Regions from separate parts of the Homo sapiens genome. Here region 1 is linked to region 2. Evidence: promoter capture Hi-C in 16 types of primary human blood cells and fetal thymus (Javierre and others, 2016). All regions are on one chromosome and are shown on one strand. The core of a region is centred on a gene start or on the middle of the fragment in contact, and the rest is flanking DNA. Distances in the headings are between cores, read along the strand shown. Region 1 has its middle 2.2 kb from the start of WFS1. Region 2 holds the start of TMEM128 (transmembrane protein 128).

What was found. The method cuts DNA at HindIII sites, captures the fragments that hold promoters and counts their contacts. A CHiCAGO score of 5 or more calls a contact.
Region 1: a contact is called between a fragment that was not itself captured here and the fragment with the promoter of TMEM128 in region 2, in 2 of 17 cell types (total B cells and naive CD4 T cells). The highest score is 6.6, in total B cells.

What each region holds. Positions count from the first base shown.
Region 1 is chr4:6,265,437-6,269,765 of GRCh38, reverse strand. No RefSeq gene overlaps it. Among named protein-coding and RNA genes, the nearest start is that of WFS1, 2.2 kb to the left of the region's middle. RefSeq lists an enhancer at 4,134-4,329. The HindIII fragment of the contact is 2,109 bases long and covers 485-2,593 here.
Region 2 is chr4:4,246,437-4,250,330 of GRCh38, reverse strand. TMEM128 (transmembrane protein 128) reads left to right here and starts at 2,108. Exons shown (of 5, transcript NM_001297551.2): 1 at 2,108-2,225. The coding sequence starts at 2,129. RefSeq lists enhancers at 1,728-1,837, 2,140-2,766. The HindIII fragment of the contact is 7,732 bases long and covers 1-3,894 here.

The DNA of each region.
Region 1 (4,329 bases), core at 290-2,789, 2.0 Mb before region 2:
AGTGGCCGGTGTAGCCGCCAATCACTCCACATCTCCGCCAATCACGGTGCGCCTCGCCTAGCTGCGGCCCGGCACTCCCCCTGCGTGGTTGGGCCCGAGGGGCCAGAAGGCGGGTCCGGCTCGCCCACAGCGAAAGTTTCCGAGCGGACTCGGGCCCCGGCCCCGCCCCCGCCCCGCCCGCGGAACGTCCAGTTGCTTAGCGAGGCCGCTCGCCTTCTCCTGTAACAGGTGGTTTGGACCCGTGGAAAAGGCTCCGGCCACCTTTCATCCACCACTCCGGCCTCAGCGTCCCCAACTGCAGATTCATTATATTTGCTGTTGCAATATTAACACACGTCTTGAGCGCCTATTCCGGCGCTGCAAGAGAGTCTAAGGGCTCCCCTAATAACAGCAGCAGAGATGGAAAAATGGGGCCTGTTTGAAACGAGTGTCTGCAGCCAAGTACTGCTTTCAGTGCCCAGAATCAAATGCAGTGTAGCAAGCTTTTCACACGGTGACTGTGGGATTCCTTTAAAGTGTGTGTTAGCCCAGGGAGTGGGCAAGGCTCAGGCAGTTTGGAGACTCTGGGAGTTTGGTTCCTGTCTGGGAGGCGTGGTTTGGAGATGAGGGCGAGGGTCTATCCTTGAGAGGCCCTGGGGAACGTGAGACCCTGCCTGCTCTGTCTCTGGTCCCCACAACCAACCTGAGCTACCTGTCCTAGTTATCACAGCAGAAACTGGGGCTCGGAGTGACTGTCAGAGATAATGCTTACCAACATGTTGGGAGCAAATATTCCAGATGGCTTTGGAGATGAGTTCTGAACACACTACTTCGGAGGACTTTTGTCAAAGCGGCGTAGTTCATGTCAGTCACCTCATTTGATTCTCCAGCTGCCCCCACTGCCCACCCCCGATCCCCAATGTTCACGTGTGACCCTGTGAGGCTCACAGAGGAAGGAAGAACACCTGCCGTCAGCCTCGCCTGCTCTGTCCAGGTTGGCTTAGGGGCTTTCACAGCTTTCAAGGGCCCCCCTAGTGACCCAAGGAGGGAGGTGGCACTGAGCCCATTTTTTATTGATGTGAAAATTGAGGCTCAGACATAGTTATTTGCCCAAAGTCTTGAAGATGTCTTTCCACCTTATCACACACTAACTGTAGAAAATTTGGAGAATTACTAAAAGTAGAAAGGAGAAAAAAAATCACTCAAAGATGATCACTGTTCACATTGTGAGATTTATGCACATTTAAGAAAATAATAAATATTAATGTGAACACACAATCACAGAGAGGCTGAAGCACTTCCCAAACCCTTTGCAGGGGCTCATTAAGCAGAGAGAAGAGGACAGATTGAAAAGTTCCTCCTGTGGAGGTCTAAGGGAAGAGAGGAAGTGCAACAAAAAATCTACAAGATGGCTTAAGGAGCCTCTATCAGAACACAGCAACACTGAACATACTCCACGGAGCTAAGAGACTGAAAAAGCAACAGGCAAATTCAGAAAGAGAAGAGTGGAGGTGAGGACAAATGAGCAAACTGGAAGATAATGTGGAGTAAATGCTTCATGATGTAGAGGAAAAGCACATGAAAATCATCAGGACAAAAAGCAGAGACTGGAAAGACAGTTCCAGGAGGTGTATTGCACAAAGGACAGGTACTCCAGGAAGAGCTGGAGGGGAAACAGAGGTGAGCAAAGTGCCAGGAGAACGTGTCCCTGGAAATCCCAGATGCCAAGGATAAAGAGACGGTCTTGCAGAGTTCCAGAAAGAACAGGTCACATCTAAGGGGAGAAAAGTTGAAGTGGTTCCTAGGGGACTTTGGAGCAATGTCCAGGGACTCTGATGATAGGATCAAGGATCCTTACCATGGCTACTACAGGATTCATCTATGTGGACAAAAGAGAGAAAATATCCACTGTGGCAAGACAGAGAAAGGACCTCAGTGATGTCCCCTTTCAGAGGAAGATATTCAGAGTTCCCCCGTCACCGAGACAGTTCAATCACAGTAGAGATTTCAAGATAGAGCAAACGCTCAGAACAGGAAGTGGTGTTAAGCAATGACCCTTGCAAAATATACAGTATGGATAATCCACATGTGCCTGTGATTTTGTACTAGCAGTGCCACATAAGGATTCTTAAAACATAAGCTACATGCTTCAAGAGAAAGTTGTATTAGCCTGGAACTAAAAAAAAAAATAGAATCTTATCACAGAGAAGTCAGAATATTTTAAGATCACATTTGGTTGAGGGGAGAAGGAGGAAGTAAAAGGATCTGATTTGGTGAGTGGGGAAGGAAAGCCTTATTGGTGGTTGGGAGGGGTGCTTCATTACCATTTACTTTTAATACATTAGCAGGGAAAGATTGGTTTAATTATGACTCTCAGCTGGGGAAGGAAAGCCTTATTGGTGGTGGGGAGGGGGCTTCATTACCATTTACTTTTAATACATTATCAGGGAAAGATTGGTTGAATTATGACTCTCAGGAATTGGAAAGTAGCAACTCACGGGAAAGAAGCAGAGTAGAACTCCTGAATTACTAGGTAGAAGTTGGGGGAGGGGTGGAGGGAGAGTAAGGAAGCAAAATTAAGGGGGAAAGTAAATAATAGCAAGAACAATAAGCTTAATAATAGTAAACATAAGATGAGATAAAATAAATAAAGCCATGGCTACCCGCCTTCGTAACACGGTGAATGGGCTGAATTTCCCATCCAAAGTCTGTAAGATTGGGGCAAAAACTAAAGTCCAGTTAAGCGCTATTTACAAGAAACACACCAAAAATATTGAGAAGTAGAAGATCACAGCAGACATTTGAAAAATGGCAAATTACTATTGATAAGGAAGAACGCATGATGGAAAGCATTCACGGGAAGAGTGGTATTATGTAAGGGTGCCAGGCACAATCCACAAAGATTTCATTGTCATGAATCTGAATGAGCCAGAAAATCTAGTAGCCACACACTTAAAGCAGTAACTGCTAGAAATACTAGAACTTATTAAAACACAACTCTGGTGGGAGAAAGAGCCAGCTGTTCAATGCTATCTTTTCTAGGACACCTGTCCTCATTCCCCCAAGAGCTGAGCTCTGCATGTTGCTGCTGAGTATTGAATGAATGAATGGATGGATGGATGGATGAATCACCTATGCAAGGACTTCATATAAGCTCTTTCTTGCCCATAGGACAGTGTCCAAACTCTTTAACCTGACATCCAAATATACCCCCCACAATTCAGTCCTTTGATGTCTGCCCATGATTTTCAGACTCTGCATTCAAGTTCTTGGCCCACTTCCTTCCCTACACCTATTTAAAACCTACTTCCATTTACTCAACAAACATTTAGTGACTTTTGGCCAGGCGTGGTGGCTCACACCTGTAATCCTAGCCCTTTGGGAGGCCGAGGTGGGTGGATCACTTGAGGTCAGCAGTTCGAGACCAGCCTGGCCAACATGGAGAAACCCCATCTCTACTAAAAATACAAAAAAATTAGCCGGGCGTCATGGCACATGCCTGTAATCCCAGCTACACAGGAGGCTGAGGCAGGAGAATCGCTTGATCCCAGGAACTGGAGGTTGCAGTGAGCAGAGATCATGCCACTGCACTCCAGCCTGGGCGACAGAGTAAAACTCTGTCTCAAAAATAATAAGAATAATAATAAAATAAATAAAAATTAAAAAATATAAACATTTAGTGACATCCTGCCTGTTCCAGGCATTGGACTACATGCCAAGTATTCAAAGAAAATGAGGACAGAGGCTTGGTGAGTTGTCATTTGAAAGACAGCAGAGTGTGGCGGTTTACAGGCTATTGGTGTACAAGGCCCCCAAAGAGATCACTTCCTGGAGCCTGTGAATGGTACCTTATTTAGAAAAGGGTTTTTGCAGATGTGATTAAGGATTTTGAGAAGGGGCCATTAGCCTGGCTTATCTCCTTGCAGGAGAGAGGCAGACAGAGATTTGACCACACACGGAGAAGTTGATGTGGACATAGAGCAGAGAGAGATTCCAAGACGCTGGCATTGAAGATAGGAATTATGTGGCCACAAGTCAAGGAATGCAGGCAGTCCCTGGAATCTGGAAGAGCAGGGAACAGATTCTCCTTGATTTTTGCCCAGTGACACTGATTTCAGACTTCCGGCCTTCATAACTGTGGCAGAATCCATTTCTGTGGTTTAAGCTACTGAGTGTGGCAATGAGTTTTTAGCCCACTGGGTTAATGAGATAAGAACAACATGGGCCAGGCATGGTGGCTCACGCCTGTGATCCCAGCACTTTGGGAGGCCTGGAGGTGGGGGGTGGATCACCTGAGGTCGGGAGTTTGAGACCAGCCTGACCAACATGGTGAAACCCCGTCTCTACTAA
Region 2 (3,894 bases), core at 859-3,358:
TCCAACCTCCTTTTAAGTATCATCAATATGCTGTGCAAGTAGTGCCATTTAAAATTGCAGAGAAAAAAACTCTGGAAGGATTTCAGATCCAAATTCAAAGGCCCCGAAACCACAAAAGGAGAAACCTGATCTGACCTGAACATACCATGTATGGGAACCTGGGATAGCGGCGATGCTCTTGGGAGTATTCAGTTACCACGGAGGCCCTGCACTGACCCTTTTTCGAGGAGACAATCAACAGAAGATTGTATTTGATGGGACAAATTCACTTCCTGTTAACAAGGCTTCTAACCCCGTACGAGAGAGAAGAGAGGGCAAAGACTTCAGTTGACTTTGAATAAATGAATCCAGTTCTTTAGGAGTCTTGAAAGAAAAAAAAAACAGAAAAAAAAAAACAGGATAAAGGAGGTATTGTTTAGAAAGGCCATATGATCCACCCAGCTGTTAAATCCTGTGCTCCGAAGGGGGAAGAAAGGCTGAAGAAATGATAAATCAGTAGGGATTTGGTATTTCTCTCTTTTTTTTAATTTTTTTTATTTTTATTTTTGAGAGGGAATCTCACTCTGTTGCCCAAGCTGGAGTGCAGTGGCAGGATCACTGCAGCCTCCTTCTCCCAGGTTCAAGTGATTGTCCTGCCTCAGCCTCCAGAGTAGCTGGGATTACAGGTGCCGGCCACCATTCCCGGCTAACTTTTGTATTTTTAGTAGAGACGGGGTTTCGCCATGTTGGCCAGGCTGGTCTCAAACGCCTGACCTTGTGATCCGCCCGCCTCGGCCTCGCAAAGTGTTGGGATTACAGGCGTGAGCCACCGCGCGCGGCTGGCACTCTTTTCTTGAGTATTTCTTATTACATTCCTTTTACAAACACCCCAACACATCGAAGATATTAAACAGTGCCTACTAATTCAAATTTTACTTCCTATGTAGCTGGCTCTCCACCCCTGTATTCAACTCACCTGAAACCACTCTCCCTGCTCTCCCACACTGCAGCAGAATAAACTGCCCTTTATATGTACAGTGTTTCTATTATGCCCCATGTACAGTGTTTTTATTATGGCACTGTATTGAAGCTGCTTCCTCTACTAGATTCTTCTGTCCTCACCATTTTATCACATGCAGCTGCTCAGAAAATGTTGGCTGCATTGATGAAATGCTTTCATACATTTACAAATAGAGTTTTCTTGTAATATACCTCTGTGGTTTTCTTTGGACAAGGAGCTCCTCACGTGCAAGGCCATGTCTTACTCATCTTTATCTCCACTGCTAGCATGGTGCCTAACAGCTCCTACCAAATAGTAGATGCTCAGTAAACGTTTGCGTGGCTAAGCCCACCATTTCTCAGCACATGACACGCTGGGAAACGGCTGGGAGAGTAATACGCGGGATTATTGACGAAGAAAAAGTTGTGAACTCGTAACACACAGTTTGTGGGCGTGAGCAGTGTGGAAAACCGCAGTTTGCTGGGAAAGCAATTTAGTTCCCTCGGTTCAGGCTGGGAGGATTTTTCACAAGTGGCGAGGAGGAGGCTCACATGAACCACATACAGGTACTTCTCACTGAAACGCACAACAAATCTAGAGCCAAGTGTAATAACGAAACGGGCCCCAAGAAGTTTATTTAATGCCCAGGGCCCCCAAGTGGTCACTGCCAGGCTCTAGCATCCTGTCCAGCAGGCCTTTCTCCTCCTTTCAAGTCTTGCTGGACGACTCCTGAAAAGCAAAAGTAGGAAAAAAACTGGGGGCTGAGAGTGGAAGGCTGGACAGAGGGTATGTCTCCTGCTCTGGCACCCGGAAGCCTGCGAGGGCTTCGGAAGCGCAGCGTCTCACGGTCGCGCATCCCGGCCCTGGACGCATCCAGCGGCAGCGGTAATCCTGGTCCTCCTGGGCTTCCGTAGGTCGGAATAAACTTGGGAACTCTTCCACCGGCAAAGCTCAGTGTTTTAAAATTCAAATCACACTTGCCGACATGAGAGCGGAACCTTTGAGGCCGACTCCACCCTAGCTGCTCGCTAACTAAACAGCGAAGAGAACACAGTCTCCAATCCAAACGCCAGGAGGTCCAGACCCGGAGCGGACGCCGGAAGCGCTGTGTCTGACGTCACTTCCGTCGCATTTCGGGGCGGTACCAAGATGGACTCCTCGCGGGCCCGGCAGCAGCTCCGGCGGCGATTCCTCCTCCTGCCGGACGCCGAGGCCCAGCTGGACCGCGAGGGTGACGCCGGGCCGGGTGAGGCGCGCACCAAGCCGCCCCGAGGTTCTCAGAGGCGAGGCGTCGGAAAACGGCCGGCCTCCGGCAGCCCTGGCCCAGTCTGGAAGGACTGAGTTTCGGCTTTGCAAGTCGAATATTTAATGTCAGGGAAGATCCTTAGAATCGCGGAGTGCTGTGCATCGTCATTTCAGCTGCGCTTCAGAATTCTCTGGAGAGCTGATTTGACACCTATTTGGAAATAGCGATTAAAATTAAAAATACCCACCAGTTTTAAGTCTTAAGGATTTACCAGAAACATGCGTGTACCGCAGTGTACAATGATGTGCGCAGTGTTTCACTTCAGGATTGCTTGTAATAGCGAATTACTGGAAATATCTGCCTTGCCCGTCAGCAGAAAGCTGTTTAAGTAAATTTGGGTATATGTATACCTGACACATCAGGTCGACTCGTATGTACCAATGGGGATGATTTTCAAAGGGAAGTGTGGAACACTATGGTATGCCGCCATTTGGGTACAAAACAGGTAACTTGTGATGTATGTTCACCTGTGAATGCATAGAATATGGAAGAATTCAGTAGAAATTGTAAGTGGTGGTTGCTTCTGGGGATTAGATCTGAGGTTAAGGATGGGAGACAGATACTTCATTTTGGATATTTTTTATCTCATATGTTTTAAAACCACGTCCATTTATTACCTTTTAAAATTAAAAACACGAATAACCTCATGCCCAGGCATGATGATGTATACATTTTGAGGATATCCCAGAATATTACGAACATGCTTCCCAGGGTTTCCGATGGTCATCTAAAGGCCCAAAACCTCAGATGTGGACCATTGATTCTCACGTGAACCTAGAGGGCATGTCAGAATCCCCGGAAAACTTAATAGAAATCATCCATCTGACCCAACCCCCATCCACCCATTCTTTCAGATTGCGTTCCAGACAGGAAAAATGTCTTGTCCATCACCTGTCTAGACAGTGCTGTGCTGGAACTAGAGCTCTGGTGTGCCGTTTCCACTTTTGAGCTGTGTTTAAAGTAACTAAAATATTTAGTTATAGGCTGGGCAGGGTAGCTCACGCCTGTAATCCCAGCACTTTGAGAGGCTGAGGCGGGCTGATCACGAGGTCAGGAGTTCGAGACCAACCTGGCCAAATAGAGCAGCCTGGCCAAGATGGTGAAACCCCGTCTCTACTAAAAATACAAAAATTAGCCCGGCGTGGTGGCAGGCGCCTGTAATCCCAGGTACTCGGGAGGCTGAGGCAGGAGAATTGCTTGAACCCGGGAGGCGGTGGTTGCAGTGAGCCGAGATCAAACCATTCCACTCCAACCCGGGCGACAGAGGAAGACTCCGACTCAAAAAAAAAAAATTTAGTTATAAAAGTGTTCTTGGAAGACCACAAGTCCAGTTCATGCGCTAATGTTTGCCTTTGGCATTTTTCCTAATTAACAAGACTAATTACTTTCCTAGAAGAAATGTGAAACATAATATTAAAATTCTTACATTTCCAGGTGACATTGTTATTTCCGAAAGACGATGAAAGTGTAAATTTGATTTCACAATGTATTTAGAGGAAATAAATTGACTGTATTGACCATATTTTATAGTGGGCTCTTATTTTTTGTAAATATAAACCTATCTCAAGGGTTTTACAGAAGGATTTGTTATCATGGGAGAGACTGTTTC